2 separate regions of the Homo sapiens genome follow, and region 1 is linked to region 2. The links are contacts of gene promoters, found by promoter capture Hi-C in blood cells and fetal thymus (Javierre and others, 2016). All regions are on one chromosome and are shown on one strand. The core of a region is centred on a gene start or on the middle of the fragment in contact, and the rest is flanking DNA. Distances in the headings are between cores, read along the strand shown. Region 1 overlaps DYNLRB2-AS1 (DYNLRB2 antisense RNA 1). Region 2 holds the start of CDYL2 (chromodomain Y like 2).

Evidence for each region. Contacts are between HindIII fragments. The CHiCAGO score rates a contact against its expected background, and 5 or more counts as called.
Region 1: a contact is called between a fragment that was not itself captured here and the fragment with the promoter of CDYL2 in region 2, in 8 of 17 cell types (M2 macrophages, M0 macrophages, naive CD8 T cells and 5 more). The highest score is 8.4, in M2 macrophages.

The regions. Positions count from the first base shown.
Region 1 is chr16:80,512,367-80,517,440 of GRCh38, forward strand. All of the region lies in intron 2 of DYNLRB2-AS1 (DYNLRB2 antisense RNA 1), which reads right to left. Among named protein-coding and RNA genes, the nearest start is that of DYNLRB2, 26 kb to the right of the region's middle. The HindIII fragment of the contact is 2,220 bases long and covers 1,201-3,420 here.
Region 2 is chr16:80,803,095-80,807,589 of GRCh38, forward strand. CDYL2 (chromodomain Y like 2) reads right to left here and starts at 1,504. Exons shown (of 7, transcript NM_152342.4): 1 at 1,056-1,504. The coding sequence starts at 1,079. RefSeq lists silencers at 285-434, 715-784, 1,395-1,704, 1,725-1,784. The HindIII fragment of the contact is 3,614 bases long and covers 1-3,314 here.

The sequences.
Region 1 (5,074 bases), core at 1,061-3,560, 290 kb before region 2:
ATGCACTTTTAAAGAATGTGTGTATAAACACAGAAAAATTCTAGAAGGATACACAGCAGACTCAGTGGTTTTCTATCCCCTCCTCCTCCCACACAGAGTACGGGGTATGTGTGCCTTACTGGAGACTTTCGTTTTTTATGTAAATCACTGAAATGTGCTAGGTGCTTGCTAAATGCTCAGCACCAGGCTAGCAAGCTACATGCACACTGTCAATTAATACGCATCACAATCCCATAAAAATGCTTCCTCTGTCTTACAGGGGACACAGAACTAAGGCCTAGGGAGGGTGAATAACTGTCTCAAGTTCACTAGCTTAGGATACCACGGAGCCACTCCTCCATGACAGGTCTGTCTGACCCATGACAGAGTACTGCCCATAATGTACTGTCTCTACAAAGAGACAGTTTTCATGTTAAAAATAAATATGTTCATTATATATTTTATTCTTTAACATAGAATATATATGTATGTATATATGTTTATAGTTGATGTACCTATATTACCCCTATTTTTTTTTAAGATACATTTTCTTTTTTTTTTTTTTTTTTTTTTAGAGTCAGAGTCTCATTCTGTCACCCAGGCTGGAGCACGGTGGCGCGATCTCGGCTCCCTGCAACCTCCGCCTCCTGAGCTCAAGCGATTCTCCTGCCTCAGCCTCCCGAGTAGCTGAGATTACAGGCATGCACCACAATGCCTGGCTAATTTTTGTATTTTTAGTAGAGATGGGGTTTCACCACATTGGCCAAGCTGGTCTCAAACTCCCATCCTCAGATGATCCACCCGCCTCAGCCTCCCAAAGTGCTGGGATTACAGGCGTGAGCCACTGCGCCCAGCCAAAAGAATACATTTTCATACTTACTCCAAAACAATAAAAATAGATAAGATCTGGGAAAGGAGAAAGCAAAAGCAAATTAACTCGGGGGAAATTTTTTTTAACTGTTTTATTTTGCGTCTCCCCAGAAGCAGAGCCTAAGTACAAGGACTTAGATGCATGATTTGCTTGTTTGGGAGATGATCCAGAGAAGGAGGAAAAGCCGAGATAAGGAAACACACAGGCTCACTGCTGCAGACACCAGGGTTTGATTCTTCTGGGATCTCTGAACAGTAGGTAAAGGAGGAAAAGCTGGGTACTTTTCCACTGGCTTCCATCCCGCCTTTGTGAAGGGTTAGCCCCAGGGGGGTTAACTCCCCAGGAGAGAAAGCTTGATGTGGGATTCTGTCATTTGAGGTGTGTCTCACCTGAAGTTGAAAGAGAATTAGATCAAGGAGATGCAAGACAAGGAGCCAAAGAACTCTGTTACATATACCACTTAAAAAATCACCTGAAGGATCGCTTGAACCCAGGAGTTCAAGGCTGCAGTGAGCCGTGATTTTGCCACTACACTCCAGCCTGGGCAACAGAGTGAGACCCTGTCTTAAAAGAAAAAGAAAAGAAAAAAAGGCAAAAGAAAATCACCTGAAAGGGGATCTATAGATCACTTTTGTTTTTGTTTTTCTAAGCAGTCTTTTTTCTAAGAAAAAAATACAGAAAGTAGCACAGAGTATTCGTGTGAGCCAACCCTGACGGGTAACCCGTTGAAGTACATTTCCGAATGAACGCTGCTGGGAGAGAGGGGCACACAGCCAGCAGATAAGGTTGCAGGGGGATGAAGCCATAACACAGAGCATAGCTTTTTCTTTGTGGGGAGGCCTTTCAGATGCTGGTGATGAACCATGCAAGCTCCATTGCTCTGAAGTCAGGCTCACAGAAAGGAACAAACGGCAGGGAGAGGTTTACATCAAATTGCATCTGAACTTTCAACTACAGTCCTCCTAACAGCTGCCTTGGGTAAGAATCCTGGCAAGTGCGTTTAAATTTTTATTCATGTGCAGACAGGAGAGGAGGTGAGGAAACAATTCTGAGATGAAGAACTCCAAATTATGAGAAGAATGCCAACTGTCAATAATCAAAATAATTCTTCTCTGCATAATCAACACCACATCGGCACAGCTGCTGACGAAGAAACAATAAACACCAAATAAAAATAAAAATTTCTCTCTCTTTTTTTCATGCTACCTTACAAGGAAAATCTGTACTGGAGCAAGGCTTTGTGGAATAGTTCCTAAAACATGCAATCAACATTTTCTTGAAATTACAGCTGGCATCCTGTATCTAGCAAACTTCTTTCTTTCCACATTCTTATTTATACCTTGTAGAGACAGCTTAACACTCAATTGCTAGTGCCATGTGTTTGACAATTGATTGTGTACTGCCCAATGGCACACCTGACTTTAGAGCATTGAGATTATATATGTACATGTGTGTCTCTGCTGTACATGATTAGGATCATGTGACACTGATCAGTTCCACAGGGTCATTAGGCAGGAGTCCCAAACTTGCTCTTTATTTCATAGGATGACATCAATCCTAGTTTGAGGAGCAGCACAATCTCAGGTTTCTGAATTTAACTTCACAGGGTCCAGAGTCATTAGAGTGTAACATATTGGCTCTGGACTCAGACAGCTGGGTTGGAATTACACACCACCATTCACTATCACATGACTTCAGAATGTCACTTGACCTCCGGAGGTCTCAATGTATTCATCTGTAGAATGGGAATAAGAATACTCCCTCAGATGTTTGTTGTAGGAATTGTAAAGTAATTTGTGGAATATGTTCACACAAGGCATGGCTCACAGTGAGCACATGGCCAGTGTTAACTATTATAACTGCTCTGGGGTTGAGGAACAGTTCATCCCTCTGTCCTGAAATTCCTTCTATAACATAGTAATGGCCTACACTCCCTTTGACTTAGAAGGATTTCTACTTTCTCCCTATTTACTATAACTTGGCTATTCATTTGATTGTGAATTGCCCAAAGAACTATTAATGTCTGGATTCCGTAGGGGTTACACGTAGTGGTGCAAGATGTTAAGGGTGCCCTAGGGAAATGAACACAAGTCTCCCACATCAAAGGGTGAAGATGCACTAGCTAGTTGATTTAGCTCCTTTTCGGAACATATTCCCTTCATGTGCGTGGCTATAGTGTTGTGTGGGTGGCGCTAAAACTTGGAGATGATAGAGAACTATTCCTTCAAGGAAGAGATTCTCTTGAACTCTATTGGCGTTGGTCAAAAATGAACCCTTGTGAGACTGGCCGCCAAGGATCACATCGCAGAGGTAGTGCTATGTGTTTCTTCTTTTGGGGTACACAAAAAACTACATTTCCCAGATTCCCTTGGAGTTAGATTAGAACCATGTGGCCAATAGGATGTAAGTAAGAGAGACACTTTTGGGGCTTGTCTTAAAAATATCTAAAAATATTTCATCATGTCTTTGATGACCTTTCTTGTTATTCAGCACTCTAGACAGAGGGAAGAGAAAATGAAAAGGTCTTGAGACAGAAACAAGGTGATGTGTTAGAAGCCTACCCAGAACTAAGCTTAAGGCCTCAAATATATATCTCAAAAAGGAGTGAGTTGAGAGAGGTGGGCAAGGGGTAACCCAGTTCATGAATTAATATATAAACACTATATTCATAGGACAGCACCTCAGCCTCTCATTCACAGCCCATTTGTTATTCTAACAAGTTTCATTATCTGGCTTCCAGATCCAGAACAAATTAGAGACGGCTAATTTGCTAATCTTTTTCTTTTCTGTTTTTTTGTTTGTTTGTTTGTTTGTTTTTCTGAGACAGAGTCTTGCTCTGTCGCCCAGGCTGGAATGTAGTGGCGCCATGTCAGCTCACTGCAACCTCCGCCTCCCAAGTTCAGCAATTCTCCTGCCTCAGCCTCCTGAGTAACTGGAATTACAGGCGCTCACCACCACTCCCAGCTAATTTTGATATTTTTAGTAGAGAGGGGTTTCACCATGTTGGCCAGACTGGTCTCGAACTCCTGACCTCAAGTGATTTGCCCGCCTGAGCCTCCCAAAGTGCTGGGATTACAGGCATGAGCCACCACGCCTGGCTGAAGCAGCTAATTTGATGGGAGCACAGAACTGCTACAAGTAGACATACCCTCATCGATAAGATGAGGGTATTCTATCCCACCCACAAGCCCTCCACTTCTCATAGGTTTACAAGGCCATTCCCTTCGACTTTCCTCATACGACATGATGTCAATTCCCTTTTCACTTTAGCTCTCTCCTTTAAACCTCCTCTCATTCTCTTAAATCCTCTCACATCAAAATTTAATGCAATGTTGCATGTGTGGCTCCGTCAACAATGATTGGAGCCTGTGTTTAAGAGGCAGCCACAAACTCAAACACTTCCAGGGACAGAAACGTAGAGTAACTGAATAAAGAAAGCAAGTACAAGACAACAAGAAATAGTGTGCCTCATGGTGAGTAAATGAAAAGAAAATGTCCAGCCAAAGCCATTCTTGCATCAATCACAAGAAGGGATCCAATATTCTGACCCAGATGATTTGTGTAAGTCAGTCGAGACATGGCATGTTTGCCCAATATGTCTGAAAGAAAGAATGGATATTTCATATTTTAGGGAAAAATGTCTTCATCCCTGCTGTTGGACACAAACAAAGAAGCATGAGCCGCCATCTTGCCACTGGCCACCACCTTACAACCCTGAGGAGCAGGACCCGCATTGAGAAAATCAGGATGGAAACATGGAAGGCACCTGCATCCTTGATGATGCCACGAATCGCTGAACCAACCAGTCCTAGAGCGTACCCTAACTTTAATTTCTGTATGAGAACAAATGTTTCATTGTTTAAGACAGTTTGAGTTGGGACTTCTCATCCCACCCTCAGCAGCATCCTAGAAAACACAGAATTCCATTTGTAAGTGCTGTGATAACCAAATAAGACTTGCTCAGGAGCAAGACAGAACCCATGGGCACTTGAAATGTGAGCTATACTGTGAGCAAATACTCCCGGATTTTGAAAGACTTAGTGAAGAAAAAAAAAATTAAGGATCTCATTAATACACTTTTTATATCCATTACATCTCAAAACAATAATATTTTCTGTATGTTGTTTTAAATAAAATATATTCAAGTCAATTCGCCTATTTCTTATCTTTTTTAATTTGCTTACTAGAAAATTTAATATTACGTACGTATTCACATTGTATTTC
Region 2 (4,495 bases), core at 254-2,753:
ACACCTCTGAGGCCATTCCCTCTGGGGAGTGGTGGCTGGCTGTTCCTTGTGTTGTCCACTTGTGGAAAACCCAAAGCAGTAACAGTTGTGTTCCTAAGCCCTTGCTCCCCAAAGACCATGGGTGTTCCTCCATTGTTTGAAAGATGCCAGACTAATGTCTTCCTTCGCCACTTTTGGGAAGACATGAGAGTATCCAACGCTGGCCACTACTCATTAGGACCTGGAGCCAGGTATCCACTGAGGGTGACGAGAGTACTGGGCGCTGGGCTGGCATCTGTGTCCTATGTCCCCAACACCTCAGACTTCCACGTTCTCCTCCCACCCAGGGCCCTCCGCAGCGCCCCCTTTCGCCCCCAGGGAGCACGACACCCGCAAGGGCCACCCCCACGCCCGAGCCCGGAGGGCGTCCGAGCTGGTGCGGGGGCAGCAGGTGGGGGGTGAGGGAGGTGGCCCGGGGACCCCGGGGAGCGGTTTGGCGGTTGTCCCCCCGAACCCCCACCCAGCCTCCCCCTTCGCAGCCCCCCGGGACCCCGCCTCGCCCCGGCCAGGCTCCGCTCCGATCGCCCGCCCCCCTCCTCCCCCGCGCCCCCGGCCCAGCCGGGCCGCGCAACCCCCGCCCCACACCCCCGCCGGCCGCGGCGCGCCCCCCCGCATTCCCAGCACGTCCGGCGCCGACTTTTACCTGTACTTTCTGTACTCGAGGCGGCTCGTCGGGCGAGAAACACCTCCCCGGGACCGCTACCTCCCCCGCCCCGGCTCCGCCCGGCTTCCTCCTTCCCCTCCAAGGCCGCAAAGTAGATGGAGTAAGAGAGTGTGTGTGCGAGAGAAAGAGAAAGAGGGAGCGGGCGCGGGCGCCGCGGGAGGCGGCGGGCGGCGGGCGGCGGGCGGGAGGCGCGCCCGGCCCCCGCCACCCTCCGGCCGCCGCCGCCGCCGCCGCGGGCTCGGCAACTCCGGATTGCGCCCGGCCCCGGCCCCGGCCCGGTCCCCGCCGCCCGCCGCCGCCGCCCGCCGCCGCCCGCTGACTGGGGCCGGCCCGCGCCCCCGCGTCCCCGTACCTCGTAAAGGTCCCCAGAAGCCATGCCAGGCTGCGGAACTTGGCTCGCCGGTGTGCGCGTCTGCTCGCTCGCGCCCTCCGTGCGTGTGCGCGCGGGGTCCGGTGTGCGCGTGTGTGTGCGCGCGTGTGTGTGCGAGTGTGTGTGGTGTGTTGAGTAAACTGTGTTTTTGCAGAATGACAGGCTTGGGGGCTGCCTATGCGCAGAATCAGAGCGGGCGGCGGCGGGGCTGGCGTAACCGGCAGCAGCGGCGGCGGCGGCGGCGGCGGCACGAGCGCGGGCAGCAGCGACGGCCGCGCAGCGCGCCCGGGAGGCACGGACGCGGCCCGAGCGCCGCGGCCCCCGCGACCCGGCGACCCGGCGGCGGTGGCTGCAGCCGGCAACGGCTCGCCCCGGCGCCGCCTGCAGGAAGCCGCCCGGCGCCCGCCGCCGGCCCGGACGCTGCTGCCACTGGGCGAGTCCCCGCCCCCCGGGAGCCCGGCCCGGCCCCCGGGGCGGGGAGGCGGGGGCTGCTGCCCGGCCGCGCCCCGGGGGACCGGTCCCAGAGTCGACTAGCGCTCGGGCCCGCCCCGCCACCCCGGGCCGGCTTCGGGAGCAGCTGGCGGGGCCCCCGGGGGGCGGCGGGCCAGGTGCCCGCCGGGTGCGCCCGATCTGGGGCCGCGAAGGGGCGGCCGGGGAGCCAGGTAGAGGGCTGCGGCTGCAGACCTCAGGGAAGGGGCCCCAGCCGAGCCCCGCCGGCCCGGGGTCCCCACCTACCTCCTCCACCCTCGAGGGGAGTGGACGCCGCCTGGGAGACCTGGCCCCTCGGGGCTGCGCGGCCCCTCCCTCCAGGCTGGGTTGTAAGATGTGGAGGCCACAGGGAGGAAGGATGAAATGGCCCATCCAGAGGCACCATGGGGATCCAGGACAGGCGTGGCCACCCCATAAACCCTGGAAAGTCTTTAGAGCCAGGGGTGGCCTTCCCTCAACAACCCCTCTCCCCGAATTTATTCACTCATCCCTTACTCAAACATTTACCAAAGTCAACCCAAGTGCACAGTGTCCCTGGACAGGCAAAACTGGGACCCTGCCCAGAGACAGTTTGAATCCGCAAGTGAGGAGTGTAATGGAGCACTCAGTTGTTCTAAAAGGTCATCCTGCGTGTGACAGGCTGCGGAGCTGGAGGAGCTAGAGAAGCTCTCCAAAACCCAAATCCGTTCCTAAGCCATCTCTCATGGATAAATGGTCACCCCTCTGCTTAAAGGGTTCTCCTTATAAATATTTATGTATATAGTTACTTCAGAACCTGCAAGGTCAGACTTCTGAAATTGGAGGGAAGATCTTCATCCCCACCCATGAAATGCCTGCCTGGCTCCAGATGTGATGTATCATTAACTCACATGCTCCCTGGATCATTTTCTACTTGGGAGGCTGTGGGCAGGTCACCGAACCCTGATGGGAGATGGTGATAGTCACCTAAGTGATTTAAATAGAATTAAGGAGAGGATCTACGTATACATGAAGTGACCTGTCCATCCCAGCAGAACTCAATAAAGGTGATTTGTATCTGAGTCTCAACCTGGACTGCCCTCATGGAGAGTGAGATGGCAGAGGGGCTCGATAAATTGTTTAATCCTGAGGTTGTCAAACTTTGAAAAGTCACCAAATTTTTTAATCCAAAAAAAAAAAAAAAAAAAAAAAACTCCATGGAACCTGAAGCATGTCTGGCTCATTCCAGGACACATGGATTTGCATTTGCTGTTCCCCCTGCCTAGAATGTCCTTCCACATTGAATCCATCTGGAACATTCTTGTTCTTCGTATAGGGGCTTGTTTATCTTTGTATCGCAAGCATCTTCCACTGTTCCTGAGAGAGAGTAGGTACACAGTGATTGTTTTTCGAACTATGCCAATATAACAAATTTTATACCAATTTCTAGTTAAAATCCCGCATGAAGATAAGGAAAAAATGGTGAGGATAAGGAATTAATAAATCAGAAAGCATATTTGGCTTAGAAACTGTTGAAATTGTTATAGAACTTCTCTCTTCATATTGATATTTTCCCGGTGGTCATGGTTTTAAATAATAACAGTAATAATAAGCAGTTCTCTATCTGTAGGTAGCTAAACAAATTTTAATGAGTCTTAATTTGTACTCACGAATAAATGCACCACCATAGCATGAGGATGTAATTTGGAAGAAGACAAGAAGGAAACTGGGCTTGGAAATAATATACTAAGCCAAATTTGAATATATAATCAGTAGTTTTACAAAAACACCAAAAGCTTGACTTGTACTGGCCAAGTACTCCCTGAGAATGTGAGTGCAGTTTGAAAAACCCTAGTCTAGACAACAGTTGTTTACAGAGTTCACAGAAGAGGATACTTAGTGTGGATGACCATGCTCAGGAAATGTTTTAGGACTGAAATGGATCTTGAAGACTCATAGAAAAGGAAGGACAGTGTTTTCCGTGAGGAGAAGAAGTCAGAGTAGATGGTAAGCAATTCTGCTATGGGAAGGGTATGAGAAGATTGGAGGACTGGTTTATGGAGGTCACAGGACCCTGGATGGTGAATGTGGGTCAGTTCGGAGATAGTCTTGAAAGCCAAGCTAAGAAGTTTGCTATTTAGTAGGTCAACAGTGGAGAAACTGATGAAGACTTTTGAATCAATCAAAAGCATGTGACTATCAAAAGTGCACTGTAGAAAACAAATTCTAGAAGAAATATGGGAAATCAACTGCAGGGTTTGAGGTTAGGGGCAGGGAGACCAATTGCAATGGTCCCTGGTGTTAGCAGTGGAAATGAAGAAGAAAAATGGGATTTGCGAGATGTTCAGAAGGAAGAACCAGGCTAACTTTCATTATGGTTACTCCACCTACTTCCATGAAGCATTCGATTCAGATCAACAGGACTTGATGACTAACAGGATGTGTGTGCATTGAGGACTTGGGGAGGGGCCGCGACTAAGGAAAGGATACAGAGATGACTAAGGTTTTAAACTGAGTGACTGAGCTACCCATCCGTCATAACACAATTTTATTTTGAGCTTACCCCCAGACCATGGCTAGCTTCCAGAAAAGGCAGGTGCTTCCTGAGGGATGAAGGGGGGAAGGGTCTTCACCCACTGTAGGAAGTTCAGCCCAACCAATTAACAGTGAGGCTCTAGGTTCTCCAGATGATAGAGAACTAGTGTTGCTCATGGAGAATGGAAGATAGCTGCCATCTTCCACAAACTGTGGTAGACTATTCATATTGGTCGTAACTCAAGATGAACTGATAGAAAGCTCTAACTTAAAACAACAGAGTATTTCCTGACTCATATAGACTAGAAAAGGATGGAATTGCTCTCAGGATTGGCCGGATTCAAGGTATGAAAGGATACAAAATAGCCTCTCTTACTCTCTCCTTCTTTCTGCATGCTGGTATCTTTCCTGCTGAAGACAGGCTTCTTCCATGCAGCTGA